2 separate regions of the Homo sapiens genome follow, and region 2 is linked to region 1. Evidence: promoter capture Hi-C in 16 types of primary human blood cells and fetal thymus (Javierre and others, 2016). All regions are on one chromosome and are shown on one strand. Each heading gives the region's core, a stretch centred on a gene start or on the middle of the fragment in contact. The rest is flanking DNA. Distances are from core to core; before and after follow the strand shown.

What was found. The method cuts DNA at HindIII sites, captures the fragments that hold promoters and counts their contacts. A CHiCAGO score of 5 or more calls a contact.
Region 2: a fragment that was not itself captured here is called in contact with the fragment with the promoter of G6PD in region 1 in 2 of 17 cell types (non-activated CD4 T cells and naive CD8 T cells); the score reaches 7.5 in non-activated CD4 T cells.

The regions. Positions count from the first base shown.
Region 1 is chrX:154,544,797-154,548,095 of GRCh38, reverse strand. G6PD (glucose-6-phosphate dehydrogenase) reads left to right here and starts at 1,250. Exons shown (of 13, transcript NM_001360016.2): 1 at 1,250-1,307; 2 at 1,933-2,060. The coding sequence starts at 1,941. It overlaps IKBKG (inhibitor of nuclear factor kappa B kinase regulatory subunit gamma), which reads right to left and starts at 476. Exons shown (of 10, transcript NM_001099857.5): 1 at 351-476. RefSeq lists enhancers at 89-368, 1,671-2,214 and a silencer at 809-1,368. The HindIII fragment of the contact is 7,888 bases long and covers 1-3,299 here.
Region 2 is chrX:154,325,056-154,328,565 of GRCh38, reverse strand. TKTL1 (transketolase like 1) reads right to left here. Exons shown (of 13, transcript NM_012253.4): 10 at 3,144-3,227; 11 at 879-975; 12 at 608-727. Among named protein-coding and RNA genes, the nearest start is that of TKTL1, 31 kb to the right of the region's middle. The HindIII fragment of the contact is 6,606 bases long and covers 1-3,510 here.

The DNA of each region.
Region 1 (3,299 bases), core at 1-2,500:
AGATACCTAGCTGCCAAACTATATGTGAGGCATTTCCGAAGAATTTAACGACCTCGATAGAGCGCAGTCAAGTTTGGTGAACAGAATATGTCTCTGAACTAGAGGAGTCCTCACACAAGGAGTAGGGTCAGACCCCGCAGTGGAGGAGGAGGGAGGAGTAGAAACAGTCCAGCTCGCCGCCCAAGTAACCTGGGTCCTGAATCGGCCCGCCTTGGCCAGTGCTCCAGAAGCGCGGAGCAGGAACGGGCTGGGGCCCAAAAAAGAGGGGGGAGCCTGAACGTCCGGGGGAAGTTTCGGAGGCGGCGGAACGCCCACGGATGGAACCCTGTCTTTGGGGAAAAGGACCACACCTGTCAGCAGAGTCCGTCAGACGTGAGAAGGGTGGGAGCGGCGGACTGTGAACGCTGGTAGGGCCCCGGCGCTCCGAGAAAGTCCCAGTTTCGCGGTCGCCCTTCCCTACCACGCTTCCGGCTTCCGGTGTCATAGCTGTGGGATCCGGAAGTAAAAACACAAGCCCCGCCCCCGAGAACTCGGGAAGCCGGCGAGAAGTGTGAGGCCGCGGTAGGGCCGCATCCCGCTCCGGAGAGAAGTCTGAGTCCGCCAGGCTCTGCAGGCCCGCGGAAGCTCGGTAATGATAAGCACGCCGGCCACTTTGCAGGGCGTCACCGCCTACACGCCCCCTCGTCTCTCGGACGGCGGCGTCTAGCCTCGGGGCGCTCGGCCGCCCCGCCCTCTCCGGGGGAGGAATCAAGAAGAGACTGCCCAATAGGGCCGGCTTGACCCGCGAACAGGCGAGGGTTCCCGGGGGAGTGGCGCGGCAGAAGGCCCCGCCCAGGAGCCGAGGGACAGCCCAGAGGAGGCGTGGCCACGCTGCCGGCGGAAGTGGAGCCCTCCGCGAGCGCGCGAGGCCGCCGGGGCAGGCGGGGAAACCGGACAGTAGGGGCGGGGCCGGGCCGGCGATGGGGATGCGGGAGCACTACGCGGAGCTGCACCCGTGCCCGCCGGAATTGGGGATGCAGAGCAGCGGCAGCGGGTATGGCAGGCAGCCGGCGGGCCGGCCTCCAGCGCAGGTGCCCGAGAGGCAGGGGCTGGCCTGGGATGCGCGCGCACCTGCCCTCGCCCCGCCCCGCCCGCACGAGGGGTGGTGGCCGAGGCCCCGCCCCGCACGCCTCGCCTGAGGCGGGTCCGCTCAGCCCAGGCGCCCGCCCCCGCCCCCGCCGATTAAATGGGCCGGCGGGGCTCAGCCCCCGGAAACGGTCGTACACTTCGGGGCTGCGAGCGCGGAGGGCGACGACGACGAAGCGCAGGTAACCGGCCGGGCGGGCGCCGCGCAGGCGGAGGAGCGTACTGTCCCGCGCTGCGCCGCGCGGCGGTAAAATACACGCTGTTTGTTGTGCTTGAGAACCGAGCAGAATCGAGAGGGTCTTAACCAATCCCTTTATACCCCGCACCTCCTCTCTTGAGCCCCTGAGACCCCGAGAGCGAAGGGGACTTGCCGACCGGGGTCACCCAGCTTGGCAAGGGGAGGGCTGGAGCTGAACTCCAGCATCTGCACCATCTCCCATGCTCCAGGTCATTGTGGAGTTCCCGCTACAGTCGGGAATGAGATGGTCCTGGGCACGCAGTTCCATGCCCCACAAGGATTTTACTCGGTTGTCCAGAATTGATGCTGTAGTCGGAATACACCAATGCTTTGAGTAATTTTGTAATGTACACCCTGAATGAAGGCTGCCTAGGAGAGAGTGGCTGGAGCCCAGAGCCAGCAGTTTCTAACCCATCAACCACTCCCCAATGCCCAGCCGTTCACAAGGAGTGATTTGGGCAATCAGGTGTCACCCTGGTGTGAGACCCCAGAGGAACTCTCAAGAAAGGGGCTAACTTCTCAATGCTCTCCTGTTCTTCTGCCTTGTTAACGAGCCTTTCTTCCACCAGACAGCGTCATGGCAGAGCAGGTGGCCCTGAGCCGGACCCAGGTGTGCGGGATCCTGCGGGAAGAGCTTTTCCAGGGCGATGCCTTCCATCAGTCGGATACACACATATTCATCATCATGGGTGCATCGGTGAGTATCTCCCAGGCCCCAATCTTAAAAGCCAGGAAGTGCCTGCTCCATGCCTCAGCTTTTCCAACTAATTGTTGCAGGGCCCCACAGGCTCTGCTAAGTTGAGCTCCTCCTCCCGCTCCTGCTAGTGCGCCAGGATCATCCCGGCTCTACCTGGTGTGCATATGCACTTGCAAGACTTTTTTTTTTTTTTTTTTTTGGAGACGGAGTTTTGCTCTGGTCGCCCAGGATGGGGTGCAGTGGCGCCATCTTGGCTCACTGCAACCTCGGCCTCCTGGGTTCAAGCGATTCTCCTGCCTCAGCCCCCCAAGTAGCTGAGATTACAGGCATGCACCACCACACCCGGCTAATTTTTGTATTGTTAGTAGAGACGGAGTTTCACCATGTTGACCAGGCTGGTCTCAAACTCCTGACCTCAAGTGATCCGCCCGCCTCGGCCTCCCAAAGTGCTGGGATGACAGGCATGAGCCACCACGCCCGGCTGCAGGACGTTTCTGAACCCTGTGCCTAGCCGCTGAATGTAGCCCTTAATCCTGGAGTTGCAGGCTCTTTAGGGACTGTCTAGATGGACTTCTTGGGGAAAACAGGGAATGCTATTCATTCTGTAGTTTTTTCAGACCTGTTCATGCCTTAACAAATGAGTTCCAAAGGCAGGATCTGAGGCCTGATCTCTGCCTCTTCACTAACACTTCAAGTTCCGTCGATACAAACACTTAGCTTTTCTTTGAACACTGTCTCTTTGCCTCAATTTCGAAAGCCTACCAAGGAGCTCTGCCTCACCCCACCTGGCCCCAATTGTCCAGCTTGTAGAACCGCCATTCTGCACTCATAGGAAAGACAAAAGAATAGTATAGCATGAGGATTTCCATGGGAGGGGAGGGAGGGGTGGTCCTAGGACAGCCATCGCCCGAGACTAGAGCACCCTCCCCTGTGTCCCATGGGGCAGTGAGACTGTGCAGGGGCTGGTGGAACAAGGGCTTCATCTCAAATTACACGTGGTCTCAGTTTTCACTTTTAACCCTGGATGCACTCAAGAATCTCTCTGCTCATTACTGTATGACCATCTTTGCCATTAACTTACCTTGTAACCTTGAGCAGGAGCTCTATCAAAACTAGTTAGTTCTTCCACATCGTGCGCCCCTCAGTGCTGGCTGAGCTCAGTGGTTCTTTGTTCACATAGAACAACGCGCTGTCACACTTTGTCAAACCTACTCCTTGACACCTTTGTACTTCTGATCA
Region 2 (3,510 bases), core at 356-2,855, 220 kb after region 1:
TTTTTTTTTTTTTTTTTTTTGAGGCAGAGTCTCACTCTGTTTCCCAAGCTGGAGTGCAATGGTATGATCCTGGCTCACTGCAACCTCCACCTCCTGGGTTCAAGTGATTCTCCTGCCTCAACCTCCCAAGTAGCTGGGACTACAGGCATGCACCACCACACCCAGCTAATTTTTGTATTTTTAGTAGAGATGGGGTTTCACCATGTTGACCAGGCTGGTCTTGAGCTTCTGGCCTCAAGTGATCTCTACCTGCCTCGGCCTCCCAAAGTGCTGGGATGACAGGTGTAAGCCACCACGCCTGGCCTGGGGCATACTATTCATCATTCCAAACCCAAAGAAACTGCGATGCTTTTCATGACACCTCGCTTGCCTGCAATAGCCACTCCTCTGTGTTGCCACTGACCCGCCCTGGTGACTGGGCACTGTGCACTCTGTTGGGGACACACAGATGTGTATGAGTATGGCCCCACGCTTAGTGAACATCAAATAACAAAGCCATGCTGGGTGAGAGGTAGACTATAGGTGATGCCTGAGAGCATGCCATGTGGCCAATCAAGGAAACAAAAACACCAAAACCTTCCAAAGCATTCTCAATGCCCACACACACCTTGCGGGTAGTGATCCTCCACTGTAATGATCCGGCCCTCTGTGGCTTTTGCACTGGAGACGATGGTGGCGACATCCAGAGGTTTAATGGTAAACAGGTCGATGACACGGATAAAAATATCTGCAGAACAGCAAAAACCAGCTTGGTACAAGAAAGAGACTCAGAATAACATGCAGGGATAAAAATAAAAAGAGCACTCAGGGCACAGGAGGTAGCTGAAGTCCTACCTCTTCCCAGCTTGAACTTCAATGCTCATACTCAACCAACTGACCTTGTTTCGAAAGCTCATCAGCAGCTGCTAAGGCTTCATACACAGTAATTCCAGCTCCAATAACTGTGACCTTGTCACTGACACAGTGGCGGAGGACCTGGTATAGTGCCAGCAAAACAGAATGCCGTGGTTACTACACACAGAATGCATGTCAAAGTGGAAGGCACTTTGCTATGCCGCTATCCCCCAATTCTAACAATTTCACTCCTTAATAACTCACTACTAAAAAAATCAGATGCATTTACAAGCCAGGACACATACTTTTTGATAGGAAATTACACTGCTCCAGCTGTCCTGGAGCATGGATACGCCACATACCCATCAGGAGTCTGGTTTGAGAGCTCACTATGGCATGCAAAGATTGGACTCCAGTGACTAACATGTTAATGAGAACATTCTGGGCATTGGCAACACGCTGAGTGCTAAGATCTTGTGTGCCTGAACTCTGAGAACCCTCACAGCCTCCCTGTAAGATCTGTTCAGTGGCACAACCGTTCTGCAGCTGAGGAAAGCAAATCTCAGAGCAGGAGGAAGTGGCCCAGGGCAGGGCTGGGACCCACAGCCAGGCGGGGCTGACATCAAAGCCCTCGCTCTCGACAACGTACTATTCTGCAAGCAAAGACAGAGTTCCTGGGCTTCTTTCATAGATTGTTGCCTCCAAAGCTACCCATCGGAGGCATCTGGAATTATTCTCCACTTCCCCTCTGTATAGGTTTCCCTGTAGCTTAAGAACCATTGCTGATAGTACAGAAAGGGTTTCTGAGCCACCCCATTCTTTAAGGATGTCCTGGCCTCTTAAAATACTTATACACGCATGCACACATATCCATGTCCTCTTTTCAAAGCCCAGCCCTTTAACGATCCATGCCATGCATGTTATCACACACATTTATCTCACATCCTTTACTATCAGTAAATTTACTTGCTTTTGTCAGGACAGGAAAATTATTAGAAAAGAGACGACAGAAATAAGCAAGCTCTGCAAACCATGTGAATGTCAAGAGACCCTCCCCATAGAAACAGAACCTGTAGTTAACACCAAAGGTGAACACTAACTTTTCCATTTGGTGGCGTTTTCCAGCTACGTTATGGCACACAGTGGACAGTTCTGGAAACACCTGCTTTATGGCAGCACTCTGGCCATTCTGAGTACTTGCAACTGTGAATTCTGGAGCAGCCTAGTCCTTAGCAACCAAATTGGATGTTACCTGCTGCTCTTTCAAGAGTGGCTATGGGCAAACCTTTCTATTCAGTATGATCTCAACTGTGTAAAATATACATGTATGCCTAGAACAAAGACAGGAAGGAAGCATGCCAAAATGTCTACAAGCCCCACTCCCTAGGTGATGAGCAGAGTCACTTATTTTCTCCATAGACGTTTCTGCTTTTCTCTATGCATGGCCCTGACAGGCAGGCTGAGCAGGGGATGGTCAGCGTGGTGGGCAGACCTGGGGAGACTGGGCTCACTACTCAGGCCTGGATTCTGGTCTTGGTACTCACAAGCTGTAAACCCTTAAGTAAGACACTTACTTTCTCCAATCCTCATCTACAGATAGGACTGATAATCTGAACTTCTCAGGGCTTTTGTGAGAATACCAGAGATCATGTTCCCTTTTATTCCTGGCCTTAGATCTGTAAAATCTGAACCTAACAGATTATTCATTTCAAGTGATTTCTATTATTTTTTGTCTTGTTTTTAGAGATAGGGTCTTACTCTTGTCACCCAGGCTGGAGTACAGTGGTGTGATCCATCATAGCTCACTGCTGCCTTGAATTCCTGCGCTCCTCTATCCTCCTTCCTCAGCCTCCTGAGTAGCTGAGACCACAGGTGGATGCCACCACACCCGGCTAGTTTAAAAAATTTTTGTAAAGATGGGAATCTCGCTATGTTTCCCAGGCTGCTCTGGAATTCCTGGCCTCAAGCAATCTTCCCGCCTTGGCCTCCCAAAGCGCTGGCTTCTGTTTTGTTTAGCTTGCGGCCAAGATAAATTATAGCCACGACCGCTCAAGTGGCTTCATGTTACTATCTTTGAACTCAACAACAACAAAAGACTCCATTTGGAAAGCAGAAAAGTTCAGGCTAAGCTGAAATTCATAGAATGTTCCTTCCCAAGGAAAAGCAGGTAAAGGTCACAACTGTTTTTTAAAAAAATGAGAGCAAAGAAAGGATGATGTCTCAACTCTGAAGATAGCTGGTGATAGATTCAGAAGTGTTCTTTTTACAGGAGATGATACTGAATAACGCAGGAGCGCGTAAGCCCTTACCTTGGCCTGTCCGATCTCAAAGCGTTCTTGTGGGGTGTAAATAACCATAGTTTCTGGTCGGGTGGTCCGAATGAAGCACATCCCCTAGGGCATAAATGGAGCCATGGTTTAGAAAAGCAAACAATGAATTTCCAACAACAGACGTTGAAAGAAGTGAAGGAGGGGTGTGAAGAGGACAGCTCTTTCTACTAAAAACACAGGCTTTGGAGAAAGGGGTGAGCATCTACAACCAGTGGACGACAGGTCCCAGCAGGACCTTGGGGCTGCCCTGAAGGACAAGCTCCCCCATGCCATCACACCAATCCCCTTGGAAGATTCCCCAATACTCACTGACTTGTTCTGTGCAGACAGAACATTAACTCACGGC